2 separate regions of the Homo sapiens genome follow, and region 2 is linked to region 1. Evidence: promoter capture Hi-C in 16 types of primary human blood cells and fetal thymus (Javierre and others, 2016). All regions are on one chromosome and are shown on one strand. The core of a region is centred on a gene start or on the middle of the fragment in contact, and the rest is flanking DNA. Distances in the headings are between cores, read along the strand shown.

The links. The method cuts DNA at HindIII sites, captures the fragments that hold promoters and counts their contacts. A CHiCAGO score of 5 or more calls a contact.
Region 2: a fragment that was not itself captured here is called in contact with the fragment with the promoter of TMEM202 in region 1 in 2 of 17 cell types (naive B cells and total CD8 T cells); the score reaches 5.4 in naive B cells.

What each region holds. Positions count from the first base shown.
Region 1 is chr15:72,396,667-72,401,145 of GRCh38, forward strand. It overlaps TMEM202 (transmembrane protein 202), which reads left to right and starts at 1,639. Exons shown (of 5, transcript NM_001080462.3): 1 at 1,639-1,741; 2 at 1,987-2,242. The coding sequence starts at 1,661. The HindIII fragment of the contact is 10,109 bases long and covers 1-4,479 here.
Region 2 is chr15:72,543,648-72,548,384 of GRCh38, forward strand. ARIH1 (ariadne RBR E3 ubiquitin protein ligase 1) reads left to right here. Exons shown (of 14, transcript NM_005744.5): 3 at 1,173-1,317. Among named protein-coding and RNA genes, the nearest start is that of MIR630, 41 kb to the right of the region's middle. The HindIII fragment of the contact is 2,745 bases long and covers 1,480-4,224 here.

The DNA of each region.
Region 1 (4,479 bases), core at 389-2,888:
CCGTCTGGGAAGTGAGGAGCGTCTCCGCCCAGCAGCCACCCTGTCCGGGAGGGAGGTGGGGGTCAGCCCCCGCCAGGCCAGCCGCCCCGTCCGGGAGGGAGGTGGGGGGTCAGCCCCCCACCCGGCCAGCCGCCCCGTCCGGGAGGTGAGGGGCACCTCTGCCCGGCCGCCCCTACTGGGAAGTGAGGAGCCCTTCTGCCCGGCCAGCAGCCCCGTCCGGGAGGGAGGTGGGGGGTCAGCCCCCTGCCCGGCCAGCCGCCCCGTCCGGGAGGTGAGGGGCGCCTCTGCCCGGCCGCCCCTACTGGGAAGTGAGGAGCCCCTCTGTCCGGCCAGCCGCCCCGTCCGGGAGGGAGGTGGGGGGTCAGCCCCCCGCCCGGCCAGCCGCCCCGTCCGGGAGGTGAGGGGCGCCTCTGCCTGGCCGCCCCTACTGGGAAGTGAGGAGCCCCTCTGCCCGGCCACCACCCCGTCTGGGAGGTGTACCCAACAGCTCATTGAGAACGGGCCATGATGACAATGGCGGTTTTGTGGAATAGAAAAGGGGGAAAGGTGAGAAAAAGAATGAGAAATCGGATGGTTGCTGTGTCTGTGTAGAAAGAAGTAGACATGGGAGACTTTTCATTTTGTTCTGTACTAAGAAAAATTCTTCTGCCTTGGGATCCTGTTGATCTATGACCTTACCCCCAACCCTGTGCTCTCTGAAACATGTGCTGTGTCCACTCAGGGTTAAATGGATTAAGGGCGGTGCAAGATGTGCTTTGTTAAACAGACGCTTGAAGGCAGCATGTTCGTTAAGAGTCATCACCACTCCCTAATCTCAAGTACCCAGGGACACAAACACTCTGCCTAGGAAAACCAGAGACCTTTGTTCACTTGTTTATCTGCTGACCTTCCCTCCACTATTGTCCTATGACCCTGCCAAATCCCCCTCTGCGAGAAACACCCAAGAATGATCAATAAAAAAATAAAAAAATTAAAAAAAAAATACAAAGATTAATTTCTCTAATGATCTGAACATAGAAACCAGCAAAGATTTCATGATGAAGATGCAAAAAGCAATTGCAACAAAAGCAAAAATTGACAAATGGGATCTAATTAAACTAAAGAGCTTCTGCATAGCAAAAGAAACTATCAATAGCGTACACAGAAAACCTACAGAAAGGGAAAATTTTTTTGCAAACTATGCATCTGACAAAGGTCTAATATCCAGCATCTGTAAGGAACTCAAATAAATTTACAAGAAAAAGACAAATAACCCCATTAAAAAGTGGGCAAAGGGCATGAACACTTTTCAAAAGAAGAAACACATGTGGCCAACAAGCATATGAGTTCCCCTTTTTTTATTTGCTATGAGGGAACTGTGTCTTATTTATTTTTGTGTCCCAGAAGCTAGCACAAAGCCTGACACACAGCCACTGCTAACAAAATGTTTGTGGATTTATTTAATAAAAGAGTTGGGAGTAGGTGGAGAATGGAGGGTGGGGAGCATCACACATACATGCACATGCTTAAAATGTGGTGATTTCTTCCTGATCTGACCAGATCAAAAATATAAAACAGAAACAGGATCTATGCCATGGGTCCTGGCCCTTTTTGCTTCTGCCAGCATGTGTGAGGAGATGCAGAGACAAATTCCGTGGCAGTTAGAGAACTAACTGCCAAGATGGAGCGAAGGGAACATTTAACCTTGACTTTCCACAGTCCTGAGGTTCCCAAAATAAAGGGGAACCGGAAATACCAAAGGGTGAGGAGGTATCTAATTGAAAGTCAGATGGGAAGAAGAGAACTTACTTAAAGGCAGGGCTACACAGAGCATCCTAAAGACAGAAAAGATCACCCTGAAAATTGTGGGGTTTTTTTTTTTTAGGAGTAGGGAAAAATATCTATAAATCAAACACACATGGGAATGCTTGAGGTAGAGAAGAGCGGGTGACCCTGGGGATCAGGGGTTATTCTTTCGGGTAGGCAATATTTCCCTCATCCTTGTAGCCTACCGTCCCTGCCAAGAAACATCCAAGTGCCTCGATGTCATGCCAAAGGCAGCAGCAGCTTATGGATCAGGCACACATCTACATCCGAACGCTCTGTGGCAGCCTCTGTAGTTTTAGCCTCCTAATGCTGATCGCCATGTCCCCACTGAACTGGGTACAGTTTCTGGTGATCAAGAATGGCCTTGAGCTCTACGCAGGACTCTGGACCTTATGCAACCATGAGCTGTGCTGGAGCCACACACCCAAGCCACCCTGTGAGTGCCACCGAATTAAATGCCACAGGCCCCACACAATTGCAGAGCTTTCTGCTCACACAAATTGGCCCTTCATGTTTCTTCCTCCAAGATCTTTTGGCCTTCACCTCTCCAAGTGCAGGATGGATCTTTCTTTGGTATCCTCAGTGTGCCCTTTCTCTCTCCTATTCCAGGTTGTTTCCTGTCCTAAATAATGGGTTATACTCTCTTTATGGGAAGAACTGTTTTTGTTTGTTGGTTGGTTTTTCGAGACAGGCTCTTGCTCTAACGCCTAGCCGAAGTGCAAAAGCACTATCATTGCTCACTGCAGCCTCCACCTCCAGGACTCAAGCAATCTTCCTGTTCAACCTCCTGAGTAGGTGGAACTACAGATGTGTGCCAACACTCCTGGCTAATTTTTAATTTTTTTAAATTTTTTTTTCTTTTGTAGAGACAAGTTCTCATTATATTTCCCAGGCTGGTCTCAAAGTCCTGGCCTCAAGTGATCCTCCCAAAGTACCAGGACTATAGGTGTAAGCCACCATGCCTGCCCTAGGAATAACTCATTTACAAGGTGTTACTGCTAAGCAATGTGATTGGTATTCTAATGTGGCTTGCAGAATTAGAAGAGAAGTGATTGATCATAGCTGGAAGATAAAGCAAATATCTTAACCTCTATTAGATTTAACTTTCAAGGTCAGCTTGTTCTTCTCCTAGCAGTGGAATAGAACTTAAATGTACGTTAGATATGTGGTATAACAAATGCCAGCTATGAAGATAATGTTATTTATGTCAAATTTTATGTGAATTTAAATAAATCTGAAAGTGCAACACAAAATATTTTAAAATAAGTTTTTGGGGCTAAAAATAACATATGCATGAATTTTTCAATCAAACCAAAAACTTAGAGGAAAGATATCATTACACTGACAGTTTTCCCATAACCCGCAAGATATACATTTACACAAAGAAGTGGGTATTGTGAAAGAAAACATATGTGAGTAAAGCATCTATTCTCATCACATAAGCAGGGGTCCCATCTATTCTCCTCACATAAGCAGGAGGGGAGCACCTGTGCCCAACTCTGAGGTACAGCATCAGTTGTTTGGCCATGGGCTGTGACATTTGATATTAAGGGACAGTATCCTGCATGATCTTGAGAAGAAACTAAAATCAAAGGCAGACAGACAATTCAACTGCATAAAACGAAAACTAGAGAAAATATTTGCAACAATTATGAAAGATAAAGGTTAATGGCCTTAATATAGTAAAAGGATACACAAAGTATTACAAAGACACAAACTCAAATAAATAAGTTCTTTTTGAACAGACATGCACAAAAGAAGAACTATAACTATCTAATAAACATAGGAAAAATAATTTAACCTCAATCATTAAAGAAAGGTAAATCAAATGAATAACAAGATGTAACTTTTCAACCACCATATTAACAGATTTTTAAATGATAATGCAACTGCTATCACTCCCATACGCATTCCTGTACATGCCATGCAAATTGGTATAACTAAAGCAATATGATTAGGTGTATCCAGAGACTTAAAAATGTTCATCTCCTTTGAGTAAATAATTCCATTTCTAGAAATTAATTCCAAGGAAATAACTAGAAATGGATTAAAAGGTTTAGGCAAAAAGATTAAGCTGCAATCATATTTATGTAACTGGGTGCCCAGGCTAAAATTTCATCCTTAAGATTATTATTTAAATTTTTAATAAATTAGGGCTGGGTGTGGTGACTCACGCCTGTAATCCCAGTGTTACCAGAAAGGGGTCCTGATCCAGACCCCAGGAGAGGGTTCTTGGATCTTGGGCAAGAAAGAATTCAAGATGAGTCCATAGAGTAAAGTGAAAGCAAATTTAAGAAAGTAAAGGAATAAAAGAATGGCTACTCCATAGGAAGAGGAGCCCCGAGGGCTGCTGTTTGCCCATTTTAATGGCTATTTCTTTATTATATGCTAAACAAGGGGTGAATTATATTCATAAGTTTTTGGGGAAAGAGGTGGGCAATTCCCGGAACTAAGGGTTTCTCCCCTTTTTAGACCATATAGGGTAAATTCCTGACATTGCCATGGCATTTGTTAACTGTCATGGCACTGGTGGGAGTGTCTTTTAGTATGCTAATGCATTATAATTCATGTATAATGAGCAGTGAGGATGATCAGAGGTCACTTTTGTTGCCATCTTGGTTTTAGCGGGTTTTGGCTGGCTTCTTTACCACAGCCTGTTTTATCAGCAAGGTC
Region 2 (4,737 bases), core at 1,602-4,101, 150 kb after region 1:
ACACAAAGCCTAAACAAGACCTTAATTAAAAATATTGGAAATTTCTTTTGAGTATTGATTACTTTTAAAATTGAAAATCTCCTGTTTGTATATAAAGAGCATTATAGTTACTGTAATCTGGGCTTTACAACCCAAAAAGTAATTGACCAGATTGCACATTAATATTTTTGCTGGTTATATTGGTTTTACAGATTGAAAAGTTTTTTTTTTTTTAATATCTATTGCTTTTCCCTTTTGAATAGTAAGCTGTTTCAGGAGGCCAGGGAACATGTCTCATCTGAATTAATTGGAAACATTGTGCTAAGTATTTACTGTTATCTTAACCACCTCAACCCACCTTAAGGTCTGCTCTACTATCTTCTGTCCAGAGGTTTGCTATTTAGTTAAAACTCTAGGTAGTACTTGGCATATATATACTCTTGATGTCTTAGATATGGAACTACTCTATATTTAGATACATATTTTATGAAAAGCTAATATGTAATTTATTTTATATAAAATGTTTGAAGATACACTTCTTTGTTTTATTCCTCCTCCTTTCTCAGTAAATTAAAAATATTTCAAAATAATGTTTAGAAAGCAAGTCTATTATGTAAAATGAGACACGTAATAATTATATTTTTAAGATGATTTGTGCAGTAAGATAAATGCTTTACTGAAGCTAATATGTTTAAATTGCTTTAACTAAAATTATTAATAAAATGAATTCATTTGTATAAAATACAGCCTACCCATGTAAAATATTACTCTTCATAGGTACCCCAGCAACAGCACAACTTTAATCCTTAAGTTTTAGTTGCAGTACTGTTAAAATACTAATAGCTTAATTTCCCAAGATTCAGTTATTTAAAACCAAAGTTTAGGGGGAAAAAGGCAGCAAAACTCAGTCTACTAGTTTACATACATACACACACACACACACACACTCATATATATGAGAGTAGACTGAATTTTTGCTGTTTGCAATATATATATATATGCACATGTATACACACACCTTTATTTGCTATAATTTGTACCATGTAGCTTTTATTTCCTCTGAATAAAAAGGTTGTTATCTTGTTTTATTTTAATTCAACTTCTTGCTTTTCCCTATAGAAAGTCAGGTTTTTGGAGAGCTCTAACAGTGTGCAAGTTGCTGGGCTCTTATCCTTTCTGTTTAAATAATGCAGGTACTTTGATGGAAACCTGGAGAAGCTCTTTGCTGAGTGTCATGTAATTAATCCAAGTAAAAAGTCTCGAACACGCCAGATGAATACAAGGTCATCAGCACAGGATATGCCTTGTCAGATCTGCTACTTGAACTACCCTAACTCGGTGAGTATCTGGTAGTTTAAGGCTAGTGCTGACTTTGTATTTCAGAGGGTAAATCAACTTCCATTATTTAAACAAAGGAAAATTTGTGGGTCTGGGAGTAGTAACCTCTAAGCCATAACCTATCAATGTATTCAGTGTGAGGAAAGGAAGAAAAAGAGTAAAAGCTTGGTTCCTCTTACCTCCAACCCCCATTTGTTTTTTAAAGCAGCAACAACTTGTCCAAGTTGTCATTTATAGACCTAAATCTTTCTGGAGTTTATTCTATCACCATGGGAGAATTGTGTAATAGTAGGCAGTAAGTAGAATTCTTTCTCATCCAAATTAAAATAGATTTAAACTTTAAGTGTTTTTTAAATATCCAGAAACACTCATAAAATACCGTTAATACTATTTGCTAGGGAACTCTCAGAATTCTTCAGAAGATAAGATTTTCACTTAATCAAATCCATTCAAATGGAGATTGTTAAATATGGTATGTGGGGACAGAGTTGGAGCAGAACCAGTGATATAGCAAGAGAACCAAAGAACTGATGTTAATCCCTTAAGTACAAATAACCTTCCTAAAAATTTATTGAACTGAAGCTGGACTCAGTGGCTCATGCCTATAATCCCAGCACTTGGGGAAGCCAAGGTGGGCAGATCACTTGAGGCCAGGAGTTTGAGGCCAGCCTGGCCAACATGGCGGAAACCTGTCTCAACTAAAAATACAAAAAAATTATCCTGGCATGATGGTGCATGTCTATAATCCCAGCTACTTGGGAGGCTGAGGCATGAGAATTGCTTGAGCCTGGAAGGCAGAGGTTACAGTGAGCTGACATCATGCCACTGTATTCCAGCCTGGGCGACAGAGTGAGACTCCGTCTCAAAATATAAAATAGAATTTACTGAACTGAGATGATTTACTTACTTGATTTACTTGAGTGTTTACTAAGGAAGTTTAGTCTTAAGATGTCTAAGATAACTTAATTCTATGATAATTACAACTGTCTTGTTCATATTCTCTGCTTTAATAGTTAAGCATCTCTTTCTAATAATTACTATATAACAAGTCTTTGACACTGTTATTTTAACAATTATTTGGTTGATGGGGGTCTCACTATGCTACCCAGGCTGGAGTGTTATGGCTATTCACAGGCACAGTCAGTGTACTACAGCCTTCATCAGACTCTTGGGCTCAAGTGATCCTTTTCCCTCAGCCTCCCAAGTAGCTGGAACTACAGACGTGCACCATCAAGCCTGGCTAATATTATATTTATATTGAAGGATTTTTATTGTTTATCTTAGAGTTGTATATGTGTATCTCTAATGGGGTCCATTTGTGGGGAGTTAACTTGTTCACATGTACAAGTGATGAGAAAAGTTTTAAAAGAAAATAAAGTACTCTTAGAGAAATAGAATGATCAGTGAGTTATTTAGTAGGTAAAGTGGTGAACTGAATTTTCAAATTCTCAAGTTCTGATCGTAACTCTAACGTGAAATTTTTGGCTTTAGCGGGAGGTAAGCCATTTAATGTCACTGGGTTTTTCTTTTTTCTTTCTTTCTTTTGAGACGGCCTTGCTCTGTTGTCTAGGCTGGAGTGCAGTGATGTGATCACTGCAGCCTCAAACTCCTGGGCTCAAGCGATCCTCCCACCTCAGCCTCCCAAGTAGCTGGGACCACAGGCGCATGCCACCATGTCTGGCTGATTTTTCTGTGTGTGTGTGTGTGTGTTTTGTTTGTTTTGTTTTGTTTGTTTGTTTTTTTTGTAGAGACGGGGTTTCACCTGTGTGTGTGTGTTTTGTTTGTTTGTTTGTTTTGGTTTTTTTGTAGAGACGGGGTTTCACCATGTTGCCCAGGCTGGTCTGGAACTTGTCTGAGCTCAAGCAGTCTGCCCACCTGGCCTCTGAAAGTGCTGGCATTATAGGTGTGAGCCACCACGCTCCTCCAGTTTTGGTTTCTTCTCCTTTTCTTTTCTTTTCTTTTTTTTTGGAGGGGGGGGGGTGGGACGGAGTCTTGCTCTGTCGCCCAGGCTGGAGTGCAGTGGTGCGATCTCGGCTCACTGCAAGCTCCGCCTCCCAGGTTCATGCCATTCGCCTGCCTCAGCCTCCCGAGTAGCTGGGACTACAGGCGTCTGCCATCACGCCTGGCTGATTTTTTGTGTTTTTAGTAGAGACGGGGTTTCACCATGTTAGCCAGGATGGTCTCGATCTCCTGACCTCATGATCTGCCCGCCTCAGCATGCCAAAGTGCTGGGATTACAGGCGTGAGCCACCGCGCCTGGCCTCTTTCCTTTTCTCTTTTTTTTTTGACACGAGTTTTGCTCTTGTTGCCCAGACTGGAGTGCAATGGCACAGTCTTGGCTCACTGCAGCCTGCGCCTCCTGGGTTCAAGTGATTCTCCTGCCTCAGCCTCCCGAGTAGCTGGGACTACAAGCGCCGGCCACCACACCCGGCTAATTTTTGTATTTTTAGTAGAGACGGGGTTTCACCATATTGGCCAGGCTGGTCTTGAACTCCTGACCTCAGGTGATCCACCCACCTTGGCCTCCCATAGTGCTGGGATTACAGGTGTGCACCACCGCACCCAACAGTTTCTTTTTTCTTTCTGATGAGTTGAATAAGATACTCTTTCAATTTTCTTCCAACCTGAGTATTGTATCATTTCTCTTACCTTAAATCACAATTCTAATTTGAATATTTTTTAAAAAGTACTACTGTTACAATATATTAATATTTTGACTATTTTATTGTCTTTAACAGATTCTCCTTGCCAGTTGACATTTATATAGTGCTTACAGTTAAATGTTTCTGTGAGGTAATACTAAGACCCAGGTTTTACAAGGTTTCCTTACTTCTTGGCGTTTTTCCTCCTGCCCTATCATAGACAGTTCCTTCTTAACTTAAATCTTAACTCTGATTTGAGTACTGAAGCTTGGCTGCTTCCAAATATCCACTATAACTTTCTCGCTGTTCTTAATATGGTCTAACAATCTCAACAAACTAGAATTCAAAATCATGACTTGAGATTTACAGTGTAAATTTTTGTTTTGTACTTGTAACTGATGATGGAGAAACCTATTCATTGAACACACTAGGCACTATTCTAAGAAACAATGGAGAATAAATACATAATTCCTAACCAGATAATTTGCAGGTTAGTTGGGTAGATAAGTAGTAAGGTGACATATTCAGAAAGAGTGGTAAGTGCTTTGGTAGGGCAAATATAAGATACGATACTGTGGGAACGTGTTGGAGGGATACCTAACCCAGTTTTTGATCAGGCAGGACTTACCACAGAAATCTGAACTAACATCTGAAGGCATGGTAGTTAGGCTAAGGAGGAAAATGTAGCAAGTCCAAGGAAGAGAGAATGTACTTTCAAGAACTGGGGGATGGTAAATAGTACTAAAAGATTCAGAGAAAAGATTTAAAAAGTTAATTT